Regions from separate parts of the Homo sapiens genome. Here regions 2 and 3 are each linked to region 1. The links are contacts of gene promoters, found by promoter capture Hi-C in blood cells and fetal thymus (Javierre and others, 2016). All regions are on one chromosome and are shown on one strand. The core of a region is centred on a gene start or on the middle of the fragment in contact, and the rest is flanking DNA. Distances in the headings are between cores, read along the strand shown.

Region 1 (4,982 bases), core at 1,605-4,104:
GTGTGAACATGTGTTTCATTTCTCTTGGAGTATACACTGAAGAGTGGAATAGTGGAGTTTCTGGGCCATATGATTACTCTGTGTTTAACCTTTTGAGGAAGTGTAAGACCATTTTCCAAAGTGACTGCACCATTTTACAGTCCCCAGAAGCAATGTATAAGGGTTTCAATTTCTCCACATCTGCACCAACATTTGTTTAAAAAAAAAAAGAGACAGAGAGATGGGGGTCTCTGCTCTTTTACCCAGGCTGGAGTACAGTGGTGTAATCATGGCTCACTGTAGCCTCAAACTCCTGGGCTCAACTGATCTTCCCACTTCAGCCTCCTGAGTAGCTGGGACTACAAGCATGCACAACCATACCCAGCTAATTTGATTTTATTTGTTTTAGAGACAAAAAATATGTTTTGTCTCTAAAACATATGTTTGCTATGTTGCTCAGGCTGGTCTCAAACTCCTGGCCTCAAACGATCCTCCTGCCTCAGCCTTCTGAGTAGCTGGGATTACAGATGGGAGCCACTGCATCTGGCTCTGCCTTTTTGATTATAGTGATCCTAGTGGGTATGAAGTAGTATCTCATTGTGAGCCGTCTTGTTTTGAAGTTGCATTGGTATATCAAACACATTTTGTAACTGGTTCTGTCTTTTTGATTATAGCAATCTTAGCGGGTATGAAGTGGTATCTCATTGTGAGCAGTCTTGTTTTTAAGGTGCATTTGCATAGCAAACACATTTTGTCACTTACGCTACTTTGGTTCATTTGAGGTAACTGATGAAGGTTATGGAAGCTTAAATAAACTCCTATTCTCCCCTTTGGTTTCACTACTAAGTCCTGGCTGCCTTCTTTGTCAGAGGAATGCCTGCAGGAGGTGGATTAGGCCCAGGGTCCTGCAGTCCTTTAAGGAGAGCCCTTGCCACCCTCCTGTTATTCCCCTAGTTTCCCTTTTCCTCACCTTTGTCTCAGTCCAGAGATGAGGGTGGGTTGCAGGGGGAAAGGGCTGATCAATCTTTTTGACTTTATGCCCCCTTTGTGGCTTTGACGTGGCCTGATCAGCTCACCAGTCGTCTTAGTCCATATGGGCTAATATAACAAAATACCATAAACTGGGTGGCTTTATCAACAACAGAAATGTGTTGCTCATAGTTCTGGAGGCTGGGAAGTCCAAGACCAAGGCATTGGCAGATTCTATGTTTGATGAGGACGGTTTCCTGGTTCACAGATGGTGTCTTCTCACTGTGTCCTCAAATGGTGGCTGTGGGCAAGGGAGCTCTCTTGGGCCTCTTTATAAGGGCACTAATCCCATTCATGAGGGCTCCACACTCATGACCTAATCACCCCCCATAGGTCCCACCTCCAAATACCATCACCTGGGGGTGAAGATTTCAGCATATGAATTTGTGGGGGACGCATACACTCAGACCGTAGCGCAAGTTGGGGACAAAAGCTCTGAGTGTCAGCAGGGTTGCACTGGCTTGGAAATGCTGGAAATCTGGAAATTTCCAGATCAGGCATCACAAACTGCATGATCTAGGGCTCACATTGCATTAACAATGTTGTGTTTGGTCCACAGTGTTTCAAAATTGGAAAACTCGACATAAAAAATCCAGCCTTCTGGCTTTTCTTTAAAAATGTGCAGGCCCAACCATGCTGTTTCCACCTTTCTGCATTGCAGTATTTGGCTGAGGCTGAGCCCTGGCTGCCCTCTGAAGACTGGTGTGAGCTTTCAAATCCCCACAGTTCCCGCCACACACTGTTGCATCACAGTGGGCCCTCTCCACACATTTGTCACCTGTCTCATACTTGAGAATATTTATTAGTGCCCAATTCCTTCAGGGACCTAACAGGGTGAACTTAGGCCATAGTAGGTAACAGGGCTAAATACAGACACTTGGGATCCTGGCTTTCCAGCCATCCCCATACCATCTCCTCATGAGTACAAGCAAGTTTCAGGTGTAATGTGGGCATCTAATTTGTGATTTGTGGTTCTTGATCACTTTTATGGGCCAGCCACTGTTCTAAGAGTTTTGCATATATTAATTCATTTAATCCTCCTAGGAACCCAATCATAATCCCGGTTTACAGATGGGAAAACTAACACCCAGAGAAAACACTTGCTCACAGTCCATGGGTAATAGTTGCAGAGTCAGAATTTGAAGTCAGGAGCGAATGAGGTCATTTTGCAAGGTTGCTCATGACCTAGTGTCTGGTTCATTATGGGGGTTCAGTGGGTGCAAGCTTTATAATATTCATCTAGTCTTGCCAACTGCTGCTAACGTGCTGCATGGCTGAGGTTTAGTCCCAGCCAGATGTCCCATCACAAAAGTTAGGCATTGAAGTGGATGACATTTGTGTTTAGAGAAATGATATGTCTCATTCTTTTCAGCTCTAACTTGGGGTAAGTTTCTGAAAGCAAGTAAGAGAAAAGGAGAGGGACATTTGTGATCTCTCATGTATAGAAGACTAACAAAGAGGCAGGTGGTCACACCTGAAGGCACGTCCCCTGACCCTTATTACATAATGCCATGGGCTAAATGTCCAAAATTCCTCTCCCAGCTCTGATTGGCCTGGCTACTATGATGAGTGAAGTCCACCAGGGAAGACACTGTGGCCTCGTTTCTCATCCTCCTGTCCCCAGGAGTAACACAGAAGCAGCTAGTAACACAACAGCATTGTCCTCACATACACAGGCCTGCTTTGTTTCCCCACCACACAGAGCAGCCGCTGTAACAATGGCCCCGAATGACACTTTACCCTCCTTTCTCCAATGTTGCACTTGTTTTTTTAGTCTGGAATGGGCTAAACAATGATTTCCTGCAGGGGGTATCAGCTTTTTATATTTTCTGCCTGCTTCTCTGTCAGTCTTCAGGCCCCAGGTCAGTGAGTGGCAAGCCAGGCCCAGAGATCTCTGCGCCCGTTGGAACATCCCCTTCTCGGGAGGCTGGAAGGCCATGGTCATTCACCTCTCCCCAGCAAGGTGGGACCTGCCCTGGAAGAAGAAACCAGACCAGGTAACACAAGAGAGACAATGAGAGCTTGGGGCTAGGGGGTGGGGTTGCAGGGGATGGCTGAGTATCCAGCCCAAGGAGGATGGGTTTCTGGCTTCAAGACATCCGATTTTCTTGAAAGCCACCATCTGCTGTTAAATAAATAATGAAAAGCAACAGAGGTCAAGTTCAGCAGCCTCCCAGTTAGAAAAATACCCTCTGTCTGTCTGGCCCTGTTCAGTGCCTCTGATATCTCTGGGTGACCAGGGTCTTCATGGCCCATGTAGATTTACTGAGGTGGCTGTTGCCTTAATAATAGCTGCTAGTACTAAGCTCTTTCTCTATGTATTGCATATGTATACCTATTACTGTATGTCTCTCATTGAATGAATAGTAATGATAGCAAACCCTTATACAACATGCCTCAGATTCTTGCTTCTTTCAAACCCAGGGAGTCGGGTTCTAGAATCTGCGCTTTTCGTCATCATGCCCCTTGTAAAGCATTTTTTTTTACAACATCCTGCTAATAAACCAAGGTCATCACAATATTTCACTTTGAGAGGCAATGATATATGATGATAGCTATGTGTATTGTGAGTCCTTTGCCCTGTGCCAGGCAGCATTCTAACTGTTTTGCAGCTATTTCATCAGATAGATACTTTATGATCTCTATTTTATGGATGAGGAAATTGAAGTACGGATAATTTAAGTCATTCACCCGGGGTCACACAGTTGTTAAATGGCAGAGCCTGGATTTGAATTCAGTTTTCTCTTAAGTAGTATGGGAATCTTAGACCCGCCCAGCCCTGCTGGTCTGGAGTTATTCTGCTTCTCTAGGTCATGGTGTATAGAGGGTGACATTCAGTTTCTGGCTTCATAGAACATCTGCACCCAAGTTGACAGCTTAAGGAATTTTTTCGTTTGTTTATTTTAAATGATTTTTCTATTGGCATCAGCTTTTGTCTTGCTTGAAGAAGATGGAATTGCTCAATGACGACAGTGAAGGAATTTGAAAGGGTAAGAATTGCTCAATGAGTGGTATCTCTTTTTTGGCCAGAGACCAGGCTAAGTTGCCTCATATGTAAGAGAACATACGTCAAATACACAGGACTCATGGTATATTATGGAAGCAAACTTTATTTTTGCCTATCATTGTCCCTAATTTTTTTCAGCAGGTCCTCCCTCTTCCCTTGCCCTGGGATGAAAATTAAGGTAGGTCCACAACTCTTATGGGCCCCCTTCAGGAATCAAAAGTTCTTAAGTCGCTTTTAGTTCCAGCACAGCCTCATTCAGCAATTGGGATGTCCAGTCCCAGGGAATCAGCCAGATCTTTGAATTTGGTTCCCAGTGGAGACTTTTCTCCCTCCTCCAGTGGGGCCTGCAGCTTGGAAAGGGGGTCTGTGGTTGGCTTCTCATTTCCCACGTTAAGCTTCCATCCTTCTCTCCTCTGGCTTACTGATGATTCTGACTCCTGGCAGGGGGAAGGGGAAAAGAGAAGAGGCAGGAAAGGAGCTGGAAGTCCGTACTTGGTTAATGCTGTGGCAAGCTGGCATTTCAGTGGCAGGTTCTGGTGGGTGTGTAAACCTAGTTCTTTCTCTCTAGGCACAATCTTGTGGATACTTCAGAGAGCACCATTATTTCTCATCTTTGGGGATCTCTGAGTTGCTGGTCCCTTGAAGCTGGTTGCCTAATAAGACTCCTTCCTTAGTTCCCTGGCATCTAAGCAGTGCCGTATTAGTTTGCTGGGACTGCCATGACAAAATATCACAGACTGAGGGGCTTAAACCAGCAGTCCCCAATTTTTTTGGTACCAGAGACCAGTTTTGTAGATGACACTTTTTTCCACAGACCAGGGTAGGGATGGTTTCAGGATGATTCAAGTGCATTACATTTATTGAGAACCTTATTTATATTATTATTACATTGTAATATATAATGAAATAATTACACAATTCACCACAGTGTAGAATCAGTGGGAGCCCTAAACTTGTTTTCCTCCAA
Region 2 (4,982 bases), core at 1,810-4,309, 440 kb after region 1:
CATTATTTCTTCTTTTGTCTCCTCTGTGTATTTTCAAATAGCCGGTCTTCAAGCTCACTGATTTTTTTTCCCTCTGCTTTGTCCATTCTGCTGTTAGGAGCTTCCAATGAGTTTTTCAGTTCAGAAAACGTATTTCTCAGTTCCAAGATTTCCATTTGATTTTTTAAAAATTTCAATCTCTTTGTTAAATTTTCTCAATACATTTCTGAATTGCTTTTCTGTGTTATCTTGGAGATCACCAAGTTTCCTCAAGACTGCTATTATGAATTCTTGATCAGAGAGCTCACGAATCACTGTCTTGTTAGGGTCAGTGACTGAACTTTTGTTTTGTCCTTTTAGGGGAGGTCATAGTTCCCAGTTTGCTTTGTTTCTTGTGGATGTATGACAATGTCTTTGCAATAAAGGATTAATTATTTATTCTAGTTTTCTCTGGTTTGTTTTGTTTCTTTGGATATATTTGCTCAGCAAATACTGTTAGATCACTGCTCCCTTTTTGGTTCTAAGCCTTGTGCCTTAAGCCCAGGTTTGCTTTGACTCTAGTTAATGAGTGGAGCACTGCCTGTCCTGGATGGGGTTAAATTTCAAAGGAATTATCCCAGCAGTGTGGGAAGGCTGGCTAGGGGTTCATGCCCAATGGACCTATGAAATGTACCTCCTACAGGGTACTGCTGCTTAACAGCTACCTGATTTGGCATCTCCTTTGGCCAAGTTACAGAGCAGACTTTCCAGGGCTCAGGATGCTAGTCCCTCCTCCTCCCTTTGTCTCTGCCTGTCCTTAGGGATATTTCTTCCTTCAGGCAATCACTTCCCATGGGTTAAGGCAAGGACAGGTCTCCTGCCAGGCAACCTAAGATAGTGGGAAAGCTGGATGATCACCTCAATCTCACTTTTTCCAGTGTAGGAACTGTGAATTGGGTAAAATTACCTGCACACTTGTTGCCGGGAAGAATGTGGGTTGTGGGGAAGGGCATCCTCAGAGCCTAGATGGTAGGTAAATTCTCCCATCCTTTGCTCAGAGGTTTTTCACTTCTCCATGACCTCAAGATCTATCTCATCTTCACATTTGAGTCCTGGGTTGTTGCTGGCAAAAACTTTGGTACTGTATATATATTTTTGGTTTTCTGTGGGGGTTGATGATAATGTAGCCAGCTCACCTCTATACCACCATTTTAAAACCTACTCTCAGCTCCTTGAACACTCCAGGAGCTTCGCCAACTCTGGATCTTTGTATAATCCCACTCCGCTGCCTGGAATAATCCTCCACTTGGTCCTTGTATATCAAAATCATTCTCATCCTTTGGGTCTCAGACTAAATGCTATCCATGGAGGACTTTCAATCCAACATAAAATATCCAAGATAGCTGTTTTACTCAGATGTTGGCACCTGGCTGGAATGACTGGAATAGCTAAAGCTTGCTTGGCCTCTCTTTCCCCATATCCTTTTCTAAGCTAGCTTGAGGTTCCTCACAACATGGTACTCTCAGGATGTATCTATTCACATGGGAGCTAGCTTCCCCTAGAACAAGTATTCTAAGAAAGAATATTGCTACTTCTTTACAGTCTGGGTGAAGCATCACTTCCGTCATATTTTACTGGTAAGCACAGTGTCAGAACCAGCCTAGATTCAAGGGGAGGGGACATAGACATTTCCCCTCAATGGAGAGGAGTATCAGATAATTTGTGGACAAGTTATGCTATCACAGGGCCCTTCCTACAGCCTCCACTGGCACACAGTACTTGCCTTCCCATGACATTTAAACTGAATTGTAACTGCCTTGTCTTAGTGAACATTGTGACTTCCAGAGGCCAGCACAGCACCATTGATAAATATGTGTTCAATGAGTAAATGAATGAATGAAAATTAAGAAGGTTTGCTTTACATTTTAGATATCCTTAAGGTTCTGACAAACAGGAAACCCTTGAAGCCACGAAGCTTCATGAGGAATCAAATCTTTCTTGTTGACTGTTACTTCCTCTGTATTGGCACAGTACCTGGCAGGTATATTACATCCTCAATAGCTGTTTGTTGAATGAATAAGTGAAAGAATGCATGTCTATCAAAGCTAGTTCCACTTCCCTTTCAAAGGCACCAATGTCGATTGTTTGTAAGTAAACCTCAAGCCATTTTTGCTGTACTAGCTGCAGAGCCAGCTCCATTTCTGTACTTCCTATTCTTCTTATATCTCTAGCCCCAGATAACTCTGGGGAGCCACATCCCCAAGGACTTGACATTATACTTCACACGTGTATTCTCAGACACTTGAAGCAGGGGTAGAAGTGGAACACTGTTTTGAAATTCATTGAGCTCAGAAAAAAATGCCTTCAGAGCTAAGAGGTCTGTCAGTTATAATGTACAGACTTCTGGAGCTTATTTAGCCTTTTCTTTTAGGGGCACATTGGAAAATAGGAAATTGGAGGACTTGTAGAAGGATGTGGTAAATGTGATAAGCATATGAAGCTCTTTTCTGTGTGCTCAAAGAGGATGCAAACAAGGACTATATGAACATTGCTAGGGGTCCTGAGGGGCTCAGAATTATAGTCAATTCTTGCAGTGGTATTTTCAGCTCTATATGATGGTTTCTTCTTGGGGCTTTTTACTCTAGTGAGTTTACTTTTGAGTACTTTGGATTCAGAGTTTGCTCACAAGGGACCAGGACAATTGCTTGTAAAGGAAGGGATTCCTCTGAATCTTGAGCTTTGGTTTAAACTTCCCTTTTGAGCTTTAGACCCTTATATCAGACTGCATACCACAGATCTCACCTGGATATCCCACAGCTATTTCAAACTGCACTTGCCCAAAATAGAATTCATTCTGTGTTCCCACAATTGAGTTCTTATTTCTATAGTTTATATTGAGATCAAAGGCAGCAGCACCTTCCACACAGTCATCTGAGCAGAAGCACAGATATCATCCTTCAAGCTTCCCTAAATGTTGGTGGTAATAGATAATATTTATTGATAGCATCCTATGTGCCAGGTCCTGTGCTACGTACTTTATGTACATCAACCCCCTTAGTCATCACTGCAGCCTGTGACTAAGATTGTGTTATTATCTGCATTTTAAAGCTGAAGAAACAGGTGACTGCGAAAGTATCCCAACAGACCTTTTTGCCTGAAGCTCTTCTCAGATTTATCTACTGCATGGCAAGCTGATTTCTCTTTTAAATAAGCAGACCTGCATGTACCATGCCCTTCCTTACAAGCTTCACTGGCTCCCCGTTGTCCTCAGAATGTAGCCCAAACTCTTAGCCAGGAGTACAGCACCCTTTATTACTTGGTCACTGAGCACCCATCCAACCTCATTTCCAGTGGCTCTTACCTTGGCCCCCTATCCCCTCACTCCCATGTTGTAGCCATGTTGGATACTTGCCAGCACTTGAAATATGCATATTTTCCAGCCTCATTTAATTCTTCATCCTAAAAATACTTTGGGGGAGCCCACCATATGCTAGGTACTGTCTTAGGCACTAGTGCTATAGCTGTGAACAAAACAGATCAAGGCCTGCCCTCATGGCACTTGCATTCTAGTGGAGAAGTCAGACAATGCACAGGCAAATAGCTACATAGACCATGTACTGTCCGAGTCCTGAGTGCTGTGCAGGGAGATAAAGCAGAGAAAAGGGGCAGAAAGTGACAGCAGGGTTCTATTTTATTTGAGATGGCCAGAGAAGGCACTTTGCAATGGCCCTGAGATGAGAACTTGCCTGGAATGTTTGAAGAACATCAAGGAGGCCAGTGTGGCTGGGAGGACGTGGAACCAAGGGAGGTCTCTAATATACCAAGGAGCCCATCACGTAAGGCCTTGAAGGCATGACCAAGACTTTGGATTTTATTGCAGGTGGGAGAGGAAATTATTGCAAGTTTGAGATGAGGGAGTGATGGAATCTGATTGGTATTTCACAAGGATCATGCTGATAGCTGTGTGACTGTTGAACAGACTGTAGTGGGGTAAGAGTGGAAGGAGGGAGACCAGGTAGGAGGCACCTGTGCAGCTCTTGTTCCCATTTCAGGAATATTCATTCCCCATGCCCTTCCTCACCTTTGCCTGGTGACTGCTACCCAGCTTTCTACACCCATCTCAGGAGTATCTCCATTCAAAAATCTTCCTCAGTTCTCTTCCTCTCTATCCTCCTGATGCAGAATTTTATGTATTTTTAATAGTATGTAATCTCACTATTTTGTGGTTATGTATATATCTGACTTTCATAATTAACTGTGAGGTCAATGAATCCTAAAGGGTGGGATCTATTTCTGTTTCTTGCTTTTCTTTGTGTTTCTAGCTCCCTGGCATGGCACCTGATAGTGTTGATAGGAATCAATGAGGATTTGAGAAATACATGAGTGAATGAACAAAGGAACAGCTCATCTGGCTGATACTAAACATTCAAATGCTTATTTGATTGAACAAATGAGGGTTCAAATAATTCCATTCAGTCAAAATTGTCTATGTATTTATAGGCCAACTTTAAAATGTAACTTGCATATATAAAGGCATCAAATTTCAGAAATTGTTGTGGAAACTAGATTTGTGGAGTCGTGGAGAAGTCCTTTTGAATACAGTGCTATCTGTTGAAAAGAGCTCCAGGCTGTCAGCTTATTGACTAACGTGTTTTGTTGTTGTCATTTTTTTTTGTTGATACATAAGGATTGTACATATTTCTGGAGTACATGTGATATTTTGATATGTGCATACCATGTGTAGTGGTCAATAGAATATTATTGAGCCATAAAAAGAAAGAAATCTTGTCATTTGCAGCAATGTGAATGGAACCAGAAGATACTATGTTAAGTGAAATAAGCCAAACTTTGGTCATGATTTCCATCACTCACAGCAGCCCTGGAGTACCAGCACACTTAAACAGTGCAACCAGGATCAGTCAAACAGAACCAGAACCATTTAGGTTTATGTTGTTATGGATTTTTGCAAAACTCCCTTTAGATTCCCATGGGTGGAGTGTGACTTATGGCTTCTCAGATTATTC
Region 3 (4,982 bases), core at 688-3,187, 370 kb after region 1:
AGGCATCCTTAATTTTCCAGATCTGTCTTTACCTGTGGCTGTGCTTGCTTATTAGTCCCTAAAGATGCATGCCATCCCGGCCCTGTTCCTCCAAGGGCTCCACCCTGAAGCCAGTAATCCAGTTATGAAAGCGTCAAATAAAAATCTTACAAGTGCTGAATCTTCTGTCTGTGTCGCTGTGTATGTGTTTTGTGTGATGTCTATAAAAAGAGCTCCAATTAATTGGCTTAAAGAAAAAATAAGCACTGAAATATTTTTTAGTTCGTGTGACTTTAATATTTAAGCTGGTACATAACTAAAATCACTTACTGGCTGGGTGCGGTGGCTCATGCCTGTAATTCCAGCACTTGGGAGGCCTAGGTAGGTGGATTGCTTGAGGTCAGGAGTTCGAGACCAGCCTGGCCAACATGGTGAAACCCTGTCTCTACTAAAATACAAAAATTAGCTGGGCATGGTGGCGGGTGCTTGTGATCCCAGCTACTAGGGAGGCTGAAGCAGGAGAATTGCTTGAACCCAGGAGGTGGAGGTTGCAGTGAGTTGAGATCGTGCCACTGCGCTCCAGCCTGGGCGACAGCAAGACTCTGTCTCAAGAAACACAACAACAATTAAAAACACTTACTAACCAGGCTTTTCACCAAAAATAAAAGTTGCTAAGAGTTAAGAGTGCAACATGTATTTGAGATCATTAAACAGTTTTACATTCAAGGCATATAAAAACAGTGAAATGTGTTTTTTAGTAAAAGATTATAAGAAAGCATGGAAATCCAAATTTTGCCCAGGAATAAGGGATTATCTTACATTTAATAAGATAAAGCTAAATGTTTAAGTAAGTTGTGGAAAGATTGTAAAAATTAATCTTGCAAAAATGTGTAAACCTAACTAAATTCAAAAGCATATTACATGGTCTTTTCATAAATTGAGCATTGAAATAAAAGCACAACAAGGGTGTCTTAAGACACTAATCTGCCCGTTAGTAAAAGAGGTTATAAAGGGCTTGTAAAGATTTCACCTCATGGTCAAATTGGTTAAGATTAGATGGAATCATCTATAAGCTTCCATTTAAAGAAATTGGGATTGATATCAGTAAATTAATGCAAGGGTAAAATTTTGCTTAAACAGGATTTTCATGTAATAATAAAGGATAATAAAAATTTTTGCTTTTTGAGTCATCGTTTTGGCAAAATAAATAATTTATGGCAATTTGGAATTCTATTTCATAACATCAAGTGTTTTAAACCTCTAACATTTAACAGGCACCCAAAAATCAAACTTTAAGTTTCAAAATTGTCTTTCCTGATGCCTGGCTTTCTGGATGGTTCAGAGGGCCCCTGAAACATTCAGAAAAGAGGTGAACAGGATTATTTGACATGTTTTGTCACATGAAATTGCCAAAACGATGTCCAATCTTCTTTAAGTTATATTTTGATGAATAATACTAACATATGTTCCAAAATTGTATGGGATTTCTAAAATTTTAATGTCTAAATATATGCTATCAATAGTAATTAGGGGTAAAGTTATAAGCCATGGAGATAACTAAATTTCTTTGTCAGTCTTTTTTTTTTTTTTTTTTTTGAGATGGAGTCTCACACTGTTGCCTAGGCTGGAGTGCAGTATCGTGATCTTGGCTCACTGCAAGCTCCACTTCCCGTGTTCATGCCATTCTCCTGTCTCAGCCTCCTGAGTAGCTGAGACTACCGGCACCCACCACCATGCCTGGCTAATTTTTTGTATTTTTAGTAGAGACGGGGTTTCACCATGTTAGCCAGGATGGTCTCGATCTCCTGACCTCGTGATCAGCCTGCCTTGGCCTCCCAAAGTGCTGGGATTACAGGCATAAGCCACCATGCCCAGCCTGTCAGTCATGTTTTTAACTGTAACTATCCTGGAAATTTTGTCATTCAAAGACCATTTTGTCTTGCTTTGTTCCTTCTTAAAAGATAGGTTATAATCAAGCTATAAAACTTGAACAGGTGTTCTCAAATGTGAGTTTTTAATAGCCTTGAAGATTGTAACATTGGAATAGAGAAAGAATGTGTGGGACTCATGAAGAACTGAAATGTTCACGAATGTCAAGCAATACAAGAGTTAACTAAATGGACTGCACTCAGAAAGTTAAAGCAACCTTTTTGACTTTTACTTGGAATGTTGCTGATCCTTGTTTTGTTTTTCAGAGTTAAGAAAACTTATTTTAAACTATTTATGGCCTTTAATAATTGAGTAAGGTATACTCCTGCAAACAAAATTTGGAGCACGTTTGTTTCTGTCTGCCTGGTTCCTCTAGAAGTTGGAAACTGCCTGTGAGTACTCTTAACTTATGGAAATATAGTTGTTTGCATCAGTGCAATAAGATCCATTTTTCTTTTTCAACAGGACACAACTGGAAAAGCTAGTTATTTTACCAAGGCTTTGACCGAAAGGGTATGCTTCCCTTTAAGAGTCTATCTTTACTTCCAGTGCCGATAAAAGCCTCTTGGGGAGAACTGGCCTCATCCCTTGTCTACACAGTCCCCGCACAGGGTTCCTAATCTGTGGTCAGTAAAGAATGTCACTTTCTAACAGGTCCAGGAGCTCCAAGTTTATCTTGGGACTCACAGGATAAAAACTCATGGCTGGGCTTTAAGAGGTCTTATCTGAGATTCCTTTTGAAACAGAGTGCCATCAAAGCCAATCCAAAAGGCTTACATAGAAATAATTATTCTTACTGTACTTTATGCAAATAATCAGGCCAAATATAAAACTAAAGTTTATTCTACAAACAACACAATACTATCATAATTTGCTTTTACCAAAAATGGGGACTAGAGAGAGAAACTATGCTCTAAAGCTTATCATTATGCTCCAAAGCTTATCATACATTTGTCATTAAATCATAGTCTCATTAATTGTTTTTCAGCTTTTTGCCTACATTTTAGACTAACCCTGCTTATTCCTGTGAATCAAGTGGTGATCTCCTGCAGCTTGGAAGAAACAAAAAGGCATAGGTAATGTGAAAATCTAGATCAATATGCTAGTTCTGGGCAATTATCCTGTAAATTCTGCCAGGTAATGAGAGTGAATAGGGTGCCCATAACTCAGAGGTTTCTTTGTTTAGGGAAATAGAACCAAGGAACTTTATAGATCCCCAAAGGGAAATTCTATATCTTAGCAAGTAAAATTTTAGATGGAAATTATCTACTTACACCACACTTGCAGGAATTGCTCTACTCACTCTACTATTTGTAGTAGAGCTATACACAGTAGCACTGTTTTTTGTTTTGTTTTGTTTTGTTTTTTTGAGGCTCAGTTTCGCTCTTGTTGCCCAGGCTGGAGTGCAATGGCGGGATCTCGGCTCACTGCAACCTCCATCTCCCGGGTTGAAGCGATTCTCTCCTGCCACAGCCTCCCTGGTAGCTGGGATTATAGGCATGCGCCATCACACCCGGCTACTTTTTTATTTTTAGTAGAGACGGGGTTTTCCCATGTTGGTCAGGCTGGTCTCGAACTCCCAACCTCAGGTGATCCGCCCACCTCGGCCTCCTAAAGTGCTGGGATTACAGGCATGAGCCACCACGCCTGGCCGGTAGCACCTTTTAATTGAAATATTGGACGGAGAGTTTCCATTGCTGCAATATTTTTTGCTTAATTATTATCCTTATAGTAGGGATAATAGCTGCCAACAAAAGGGAAGCATGAAAGTTTTACTATCACTGAGTTTGCTAGAACTTCTTATTGGGTTTGGTAATATGTCACATCCTGGTTATGCAAAGGTTATAAAGGAAAGAGATTTTCTGTGGAAGTCATGAAAGGATTGATAATTGCAGGAAAAATGTAGCCAAGGTTAACACTAAAGTTATTCTAGCCACCCAATCCAATGCCACTTTTCCTAAAAGGAATGTTACTTTTATATGAATGTTTCTGATTATGTACAGCGACATCTAGTGGAGGCAAACTGGTATTACAATCCATTGGTGTAACTAACAGGTATCAAACTCTACTGTCATAGTTATGGTCTATAGGCCCTCCATTAACAGTGGTAATCTCGATACTCATATTCTAATCCTATATTTTAAACCTCCTTGTAAAATTTATCTCTTTTCACCTAGAAGCAATCAAACCCCAAATGGTGCTGCAGACAGAGCCACACATGGACACACCATTCTTCTGAGAACACTTAGATTGACCTCAAGAGGAGGCCCAACCACTGTCCTCCAACAAGATGCCCCTTTTTAGCAGGAAGTAGCCAGAAAGAATCGTCATCCAATACCCCCTAACGGCAGTTAAGTTTATGTCTGTAGAGGGGGGAAATAATACAGGAGTTATTAAGAAATTATTTTTAGAGGTTCCGAGATGGCTGAATAGGAACAGCTACAGTCTACAGCTCCCAGCGTGAGCGACACAGAAAATGGGTGATTTCTGCATTTCCAACTGAGGTATTGGGTTCATCTCACTGGGGCTTGTCGGACAGTGGGTGCAGCCCACAGAGTGTGAGCTGAAGCAGGGTGGGACATTGCCTCACCCGGGAAGTGCAAAGGGTTGGGGAATTCCCTTTCCTAGCCAAGGGAAGCCATGACAGACAGTACCTGGAAAATTGGGACACTTCCACCTTAATACTGGGCTTTTCCAATGGTCTTAGCAGATGGCACACCAGGAGATTATATCCCATGCGTGGCTTGGAGGGTCCCACGTCCATGGAGCCTCCCCCACTGCAAGCACAGCTAACAGAGATCGAACTGCAAGGTGGAAGTGAGGTGGGGGGAGGGGCATCCACCATTGCTGAGGCTTGAGTAAGTAAACAAAGCCTCTGGGAAGCTTGAACTGGGTGGAGCCCACTGCAGCTCAAGGAGGCCTGGTGTGCCTCTGTAGACTCCACCTCTGCGGGCAGGGCATAGCTGAACAAAAGGCAGCAGAAACTTCTGCAGACTTAAACGTCCCTGTCTGACAGCTTTGAAGAGAGTAGTGGTTCTCCCAGCATGGAGTTTGATATCTGAGAACGGACAGAC

Evidence for each region. Contacts are between HindIII fragments. The CHiCAGO score rates a contact against its expected background, and 5 or more counts as called.
Region 2: a contact is called between a fragment that was not itself captured here and the fragment with the promoter of PRR5L in region 1, in 1 of 17 cell types (fetal thymus). The highest score is 5.9, in fetal thymus.
Region 3: a contact is called between a fragment that was not itself captured here and the fragment with the promoter of PRR5L in region 1, in 1 of 17 cell types (total CD8 T cells). The highest score is 6.8, in total CD8 T cells.

What each region holds. Positions count from the first base shown.
Region 1 is chr11:36,293,434-36,298,415 of GRCh38, forward strand. PRR5L (proline rich 5 like) reads left to right here and starts at 2,855. Exons shown (of 9, transcript NM_001160167.2): 1 at 2,855-3,005. The HindIII fragment of the contact is 2,178 bases long and covers 2,231-4,408 here.
Region 2 is chr11:36,736,531-36,741,512 of GRCh38, forward strand. The region is part of intron 3 of LOC107984326 (a long non-coding RNA gene); the gene reads left to right. Among named protein-coding and RNA genes, the nearest start is that of RAG2, 140 kb to the left of the region's middle. The HindIII fragment of the contact is 283 bases long and covers 2,919-3,201 here.
Region 3 is chr11:36,669,102-36,674,083 of GRCh38, forward strand. It overlaps LOC107984325 (a long non-coding RNA gene), which reads left to right and starts at 1,788. Exons shown (of 3, transcript XR_001748186.1): 1 at 1,788-2,421; 2 at 2,897-2,984; 3 at 4,086-4,361. The HindIII fragment of the contact is 1,775 bases long and covers 1,051-2,825 here.